Regions from separate parts of the Homo sapiens genome. Here region 1 is linked to region 2. The links are contacts of gene promoters, found by promoter capture Hi-C in human tissues and cell types (Jung and others, 2019). All regions are on one chromosome and are shown on one strand. Each heading gives the region's core, a stretch centred on a gene start or on the middle of the fragment in contact. The rest is flanking DNA. Distances are from core to core; before and after follow the strand shown. Region 1 has its middle 120 kb from the start of NECTIN1-AS1. Region 2 holds the start of POU2F3 (POU class 2 homeobox 3).

Region 1 (3,737 bases), core at 367-2,866, 650 kb after region 2:
ACTGCACCCGGCCCAAGAGCTCCTTATTTAACTCCCTTCCTCACTCTACTTTCCAGCAACAGTAGTGTCACCAATGCCTGAGACTCTGGAGGGGTTTTGGAGAAAGGGGGTGGGAATTGGCTTTTTAGCTTTCCCCTCTTTCAGTTTGGGCTTCAGCTTTTCCCAGTCTACTCAGTTTACTCATTCATTGCTTTACAGTTTCCAAACTTGGGCTGCTGTTGTCTTCTCTCCCATTATTTCTGGCACAGGGCAAACCCCAAAATTGGGGCTCAGCCCGGGAGGCCACGTGGGTTCTTGGCTTTGTGCAGGAAGAAATTCAAGCACAGGAAGGAATTCAAGAGCAAGCAGAATAAAGTGAAAGCAAGTTTATTAAGAAAGTAAAGGAATAGGCTGGGCACGGTGGCTCACCCCTATAATCCCAGCACTTTGGGAAGCCGAGGCACGTGGATCACCTGAGGTCAGGAGTTCCAGACCAGCCTGGCCAACATGGAGAAACCCCATCTCTACTAAAAATACAAAAACTAGCAGGGCGTGGTGGCGTGCACCTGTAATCCCAGCTACTGGGGAGGCTGAGGCAGGAGAATCACTTGAACCCAGGAGGCGGAGGTTGCAGTGAGCCAAGATCGTGCCACTGCACTCCAGCCTGGGCAACAGAGCAAAACTCCATCTCAAAAAAAAAAAAAAGAAGAAAACTAAAGGAATAAAAGGTGGTTATTCCATAGGCAGAGCAGCCTTTGAGGGCTGTTGGCCGGCTATATTTATAGTTAATTCTTGATTATATGCTAAATATGGGGTTGATTATTCATGAGTTTTCCAGGAAAGGGGCAGAGATTTCCCAGAACTGAGGGTTCCTCCTTCTTTTAGACCATATAAGGTAACTTCTGGATGTGCGATGGCATTCGTAAACTGTCATGGCGCTAGTGAGAGTGCCTTTAGCATGCTAATGCATTGTAATTAGCATATAATGAGCAGTGAGGACAATCAGAGATTGCTTTTGTTGCCATCTTGGTTTTGGCAGGTTTTGACTGGCTTCTTTGCCACATCCTGTTTTATCAGCAGTGTCCTTGTGACCCGCATCTTGTAAAACAAGTCCTGCCGAATTTCTGTCTCATCTCCACCTTTATGGGTTTCTGATTTTTAAAAAATCCCTTTATAGTCACTTTAGGGTTTTCAAGAAGAGCAAGATGAATTGTGTGCATTCAATTCACCATCTTTACTGGAAGTCTCCATCTGCATTCCACCTTTGAACTGATGGGCTTATGCCTTTTAATAAAATCCTTTTACTGTTATTTCCATGGGCTTTGGGGAGTGTAAACTAATGAATGGGTTCAACTTGCCATCTTTAACTGGAACTGATTTGTTTGTTATTAAACTTTGCTCTAGACATAAATGTCTATCTCCCCACTTACAGCACTTACTGTGGTGAGCTTCTTAAGAAGAATTTTTTGTTTTTTTGTTTTTTGCCTCAAAAGCCAGCACAACGGCTGGATACTAAAGACTTATGACTGGGCCTAGGTTTTCATGTTATTTAAACTACCTTCCCTTCTCCTCCACAAATGTGCATTCAACAAATATTTACCAAATATTTAGTAAGCATCTACTGTTTGTCAGGTAATATTCAGGCCCCAGGCACACAGCAGAAGTCAAGTCCGACTGAGTTGATGCTCACATGGAACTTGCATTCAGCTCTGTTAAAATATTCTCTAGGAGCTTATTACTTCTCAAGGCAGCCCACCCTATCAGCTCCTGCTGAAAACTGGTTTCCCATTACTTTCGCTCATTGGTCCAAATTCCTCCTGGCAGAGGCTCCCTCTTCTGTAGGATAGACCTCCAGTTAAGTAAAGATGATCTGTGATTCTGTTTTCTTCATACTTTCCTTCAACCACTCATACAGTTCCGGCGCCTCCTCCCACAATGAAGTCACGAAACACTCAGGATGCTCCCCCATTCTCTTCCTTCTTCTCTGTGAGTAGGAAAGTGGGATAAAGTCAAAAATAATATATTTAGTCTTTGTCCCAGGTTCCTGGCACAGAGCTTCAAAAACCCTCAGAAGTTTGAATGACAGGAATGTCTTTTGTTATTCATAATGAGCCCTTTTCAGCCACACCTGAGTTTATGCTAATGAGATGACTCACAGCAGATCCCCTAGACAGTTTCAGAACAGAGGCTGGTTCTCAGGAAAACCAACCAAGGGATTAAAGAGTTGGAACTTTCAGCCCCTCCCCTCTCCCTTCCACCTCCAGGAAAAGATGGAGATGGAGTCCAGTCACATGGCCAATGATTAAATCAATCATGCTTACATAATGAAACCTCAACAGAAACTCTGAACAACAAGGCTTGGAGAACTTCCTGGTTGGTAAACATACTAATATTGGCATACCAGAAGGGTGGCACACCCTGACTCCAACAGAAGCTTTTGTGCTTGGGACTCTTCCAGACCTTGCTGTGTGTGCATGTTCATCAGGCTGTTTATTTGTATCTTTTACAATAAAATGGTAATTGTAAATATAATGCTTCCAGTGAGTTCTCTGAGTCATTCTTTATCAACCCAAAATGAGGGTGTAGAGGAACCCCCGAATTTATAGCTGGGCAGGCAGAAGTGTGAGTGGCTTGAGGACACCCAGGACTTGTAGTTGGTACCTGAAGTGGGCAGTCTTGCGGGACTAAGCCCCTTAACCTGTGGGATTTGTGCTAACGCCAGGTAGCTGATGTCAGAATTGAATTGGATTGAATTGAATTGAATTGAATTGAATTGAATTGAATTGAATTGAATTGAATTGAATTGAGTGACATCCAGTCGGTGTCAGGGGACTGGTGTGGGAAGGCAGAAAGGGAGCCTGCTGTGATGCTCGGCACCCCAATATCTTTCCCTCTTGGCCTCATGCTCTCTGCCCAGCCAAAGAGAACTCAATTTACCCTTGGAGCACCATTGTTTGATGGGATGGGCCTAGGGCTCTGAAAACAGCTTCCTTCCTTCTCCAATTGTGTGTACTGCAATCTGTTTCCCATTATTTCCCATTATTTCTCTGTTTGAAGGAAGGTTTACTTATCATCTCCAATGACTGTAAAACCCATCAGAGTTGTCTTGGCTCCTGTGAAATGTCCAGCAAATATGGGCATTCAGGGGATGCTCAGTAATGGTGCTTGGCATGTGTTAGCTTGGCATGCATTAATTTGCCCTTTGAAGAGATCCTGCCCCTCCTCCACCCTCCTTCCCTCCTGCAGACTCCCATGAAAGCTTTCATGAGTGCTCAGAGGGTCCTCACTGGAATGAGTCCTAGAGGCCCAAGTCTAACTTTTGTTGGATTGGGAGGAACCCACGTGGATACATATCACAACTTCAGTTTTTGTTGGTTGTTTTTGAGGCTGTTGTTTTGGTTTACCATGGAACATGCACCTGTATGTGCAGGGGTGGGGGTGGTTTGATGAGTGATATGGATGCTGAGGTGTCTGGCCAGGCATCCCACTTCCTGCAAGACAGGAGTAGGAATAACAACTCACATCTGCACATCCCTCTACAGACTATCAAGTTCCTTCCCACACCAAAGAGCATCCTCCCAACCTGTGTTTGTCTGTAACCCTAACCAATATCCCAGTTTTACAGATGGGAAAAATAAGGCTAAACAAAATTAGGTAACAGCTAGCAAATGAAGAGATCTCAGGTCTTCTGACTGCAGATCTCTTGAGCTTTCCGTTCCACCATTCTGTGACCCACCTGAAGGCAGAAGGAATCACAG
Region 2 (3,626 bases), core at 397-2,896:
CCTCCAGTAGACAAGGAGGTGGAAAACCCCCAGGAAGTCTGTGATCTTGGTGCTAAAAAACTTCCCATCCACTGCTAAGCCCACCTTTCTGAAGAGACTTGCTCCCATTCAAACCCTGGCCTTCTCTGCGGGCAGTGAAGGGGAGAGCACCTACCCGGGGATCTGCCCCAGGTATGCCCAGTCTAGAAACAGACTTTCCTCAGACTCTGGATGACACCCAGTTGGATGGCTTCTTCCGCCTCACCTAGCCTTTCTGGCACGTCCTGGAGAGCCACTCAGTGCCAACATCTCACTGCCAGTCTGCCTCTCACTCAGCCCTGCCAGGAAACAGCATCTGGGGAACTGGGCACTCCAGGTCCCCTCCCTCCGGGCACTCACTGACGCTTGTTTTCAGGCTGGGTAGGCCTCAGGCCTGCTCTGCTTCTTGGGGTGGGTCTGGAGCATTGCCTCCTCCCTACTCTCCCAGAAAGGAGACCAGGTAACAACATTCCCATCAACAGCCCCGAAATCCTAAAGAAAGATCACTGGGTCCTGCCCACTTTGAGAGTAAGTTGCTAGGTTAGAAATGGCCAGGTCAGGTACCGCTTTCTTCACTTGTTCTTTGCTCAGGCCCTGTGACCTCCAGAAGGCCCACCCTAACAGGAAGCCCCAAGCCAAGCCCAACCTGGCTGCCTGGCAGCTCCTGCCTTAGCCCAGCTGTGGAAGGAGGAACAGCAAGGTGAATGGAGGGGCTGGGTTCCCTCCATGCCCACCTCTCATTCATTCATTCAGGGAAGCCTGACTCCCGGCAAAGCATTTGCATCTCCTAGGTTTCCACCCCTTAGGGAAGGAAGGCATGGGACATGGAACCCAGAGGATGTGTCTGTCACCATCCCTTCTCAAACACATGGGGGCATGGCCCCTGCCCCAGGGGCACCTCTGTAATTGCCCCACCTCAGCCACTTCTCCTAAGCCCCCCAACCACCTAAATGTCCGCTTTGCCTCCATTTCACACATATGCCCGGACACCAGCACACAGCATGTGGACATACACATTTCCCTCACTTATGCACTCCCAGGTCCACACCCCTGGCTGAGTGAGTGAACCACCCATCCCTGCAACCTCCTGAGACTATGACAGTTCAGTACACCCACGTCCCATACAACTGCCACTCCCCAGACCGGGGGCTTCGAAGCCCTCCCGCCCTTCACCAGCCCCCACCCTCATTCTTTTCCAGGGTTTCTTATCCCAGATCCCCTCCCTTTAGTCCCCAAATACTGACCGGCACCCACCCCAGGACAACCCGCTATCCACACCGCCCTCTCCTGGCCGCTGGGAAACAAGCCCCCCTCCCTAACCAGAACGTTGTCCCTCTCCTTCACCCCTGCCCACGCGCAGTGACACCTGTCAGAGCTCATTCCCTCCGCCCCTCACCTGTGTGCATGGACTCCAGATTCACCATCCTGCCCCAGGCGGGGCCAAAGCCAGCGCCCCCCCAGGCCCCTCGCCTCTGCCCCAGCCGGGGCCCCTGCGAAGCCAGGGTCTCCTTCCTCCAGTTCCCGGCCGCCGCCGCCGCGGGAGCCGCTGCCGGAGCCGTCGCCGCCACTGTCGCGCGCTCCGCTGCTCCGGCCCGGGCAACACTCGGCGCCGCCAGGATTGCCACACTCCCCAGGTGAGCACGCGGCGCGGGGCGGGGGCCGCCGGCCACGCCCCCTGGCAGGAGCCCCGCGCCTGGCCCCAGGCCCATGCAAAGCAGTGATTTGCATACATGGAGCTGGGGACCTGGGGAGGGGGCCGGGGGTGCTGCCGGGGCGGGTCTCGATCCCGCGGAACACCTGCCTGCTCCAACCCAGCCTGGCAGCACCTCCTCACCGCGCCCGGAGTGGCGCCAACTCCTGGTCCTGCTCGCCCTTTTTAGGAAGCCCTGGCGGGTTCTCCAGCCTGAGCCCGAGCTTCCTTCTGGACAGATCGCGAAGTGTAAGCGCTGCAAGGAGTTGGAGTGTTTGGAGAAGTCGCGGGGGTCTGCTGGAAAGAATTCAGTTTTGGAATCTCGCCTCCCAACCGCTTACCAGCAGTGTGGCTGGGACAAGGTTCTTCACCTCCCTGAGCTCATTTAACTCACCTGTAAAACAGGACAGGTGCTAATCGGGTTCCCTATTGGGCTGAGCAGGTGACCAAGCTCACCTAGCCCCCATGGCATCCTCACAGCATTGTGGGATTTAGACGGGGTGCAGTTTATTATTAGCAGAGTTTCCAGGTGCACACAACTGCTTCCTGCTTGCCCCTCCAGTCTCCCGCCCCAGGTCCCAGGTTGCTGTGAGGCTCTACGAGATGATGGATGTGGAAGTTACCAGTGCCCAGGCTTTTGGTGACAGCCACCTTCCAGAGCGGGGAAGCGGCTTGCTCAAAGGTGCACACTTCCCTAGTGACAGAGCCTGGCTGGAATCAGGTCTCTGGACTCCCACTCCAGTGCTCTTTGCAGCACCCATCATAGGCTCACCCCTTTCTCTTCGTCTCTTCAAGTCCCAGTAAGTGGTCTGTCACCACAGGATGGCCTGCATGGAAGCCCAGAAAGCTGTGTGCAGACAGGAGGGCAGGGCCTCGCTTTCCTTCCCAGACAGGACTCCTCATGAACATGTCTTCTCCTTAGTCCCATGGGCTACTTTCTGAGCACAGAACAGGTTTTGGGCTTTCCTGCCTCTACACCTTGTTTACAGTGTCCTTTCCCCCTGGCACGCCCATCCCACCGTGCACTCCAGTCATGCCCACGATAACACCCAGCATTTCGTGTGCCTTCACTGTGTATCAAGCACTGGGGTGACCAACACTTGAAAGGCATCTTTCGTGCCTTTAGTTCTTGTTTAGTCCTCAAAACCTGTACATTGTACTATGATTATTGCCATTTTATAGATGGGGAAAATGAGGCTTAGAGAGTTTAAGTTCCGTGTTCTTTTTTTTTTTTTTTTTTTTTTTTTTTTAGACAGAGTCTTGCTCTGTTGCCAGGCTGGAGTGCAGTGGTGCAATCTCGGCTCACTGCAACCTCCACCTCCTGGGTTCAAGCGATTCTCCTCAGCCTCCTGAGTGGCTGAGACTATAAGCACGTGCCACTACACCCAGCTAATTTTTGTGTTTTTAGGAGAGACAGGGTTTCACCACGTTGCCAGGATGGTCTCGATCTCCTGACCTCGTGATCCACCCGCCTCAGCCTCCCAAAGTGCTGGGATGACATGTGTGAGCCACCACGCCCAGCCTAAGTTCCATGTTCTTAACAGCCTTCGTGGCAGGTTCTGAGGGCCTTTTCTTAGCTTACCCCCTGGTTGGTAACTGATCAATTGCTTCATTCTAGTGCCAGCACCCCAGCACCTAGAACAGGGCTGGGCACACAACAGGTATCAGAAAGTGTTCTGTGGGTGCTACAGTGGCCCCAGAGGAACAGGAAGCACTTAATTGCTTCTTCAGGTCCACATACACCACCCTCCCCAGTCACATGGACCTCCCTTCCCCACGCTCCCGAAAAGAAGGGAGGAGAGAAACTTCTTCTTGCTTCTTTTTCTTTTTCTTTTTTGAGATGGAGTTTCTACCTTGTTGCCCAGGCTGGAGTGCAATGGCATCATCTCGGCTCACGGCAATCTCCGCCTCCCAGGTT

The links. The method cuts DNA at HindIII sites, captures the fragments that hold promoters and counts their contacts. A contact is called where the count stands out against the background at its distance.
Region 1: a contact is called between a fragment that was not itself captured here and the fragment with the promoter of POU2F3 in region 2, in 2 of the 25 tissues and cell types used here (dorsolateral prefrontal cortex and thymus).

Annotation. Positions count from the first base shown.
Region 1 is chr11:119,589,360-119,593,096 of GRCh38, reverse strand. No RefSeq gene overlaps it. Among named protein-coding and RNA genes, the nearest start is that of NECTIN1-AS1, 120 kb to the left of the region's middle. The HindIII fragment of the contact is 7,169 bases long and covers 1-3,737 here.
Region 2 is chr11:120,238,160-120,241,785 of GRCh38, reverse strand. POU2F3 (POU class 2 homeobox 3) reads right to left here and starts at 1,646. Exons shown (of 13, transcript NM_014352.4): 1 at 1,415-1,646. The coding sequence starts at 1,442. The HindIII fragment of the contact is 19,243 bases long and covers 1-3,626 here.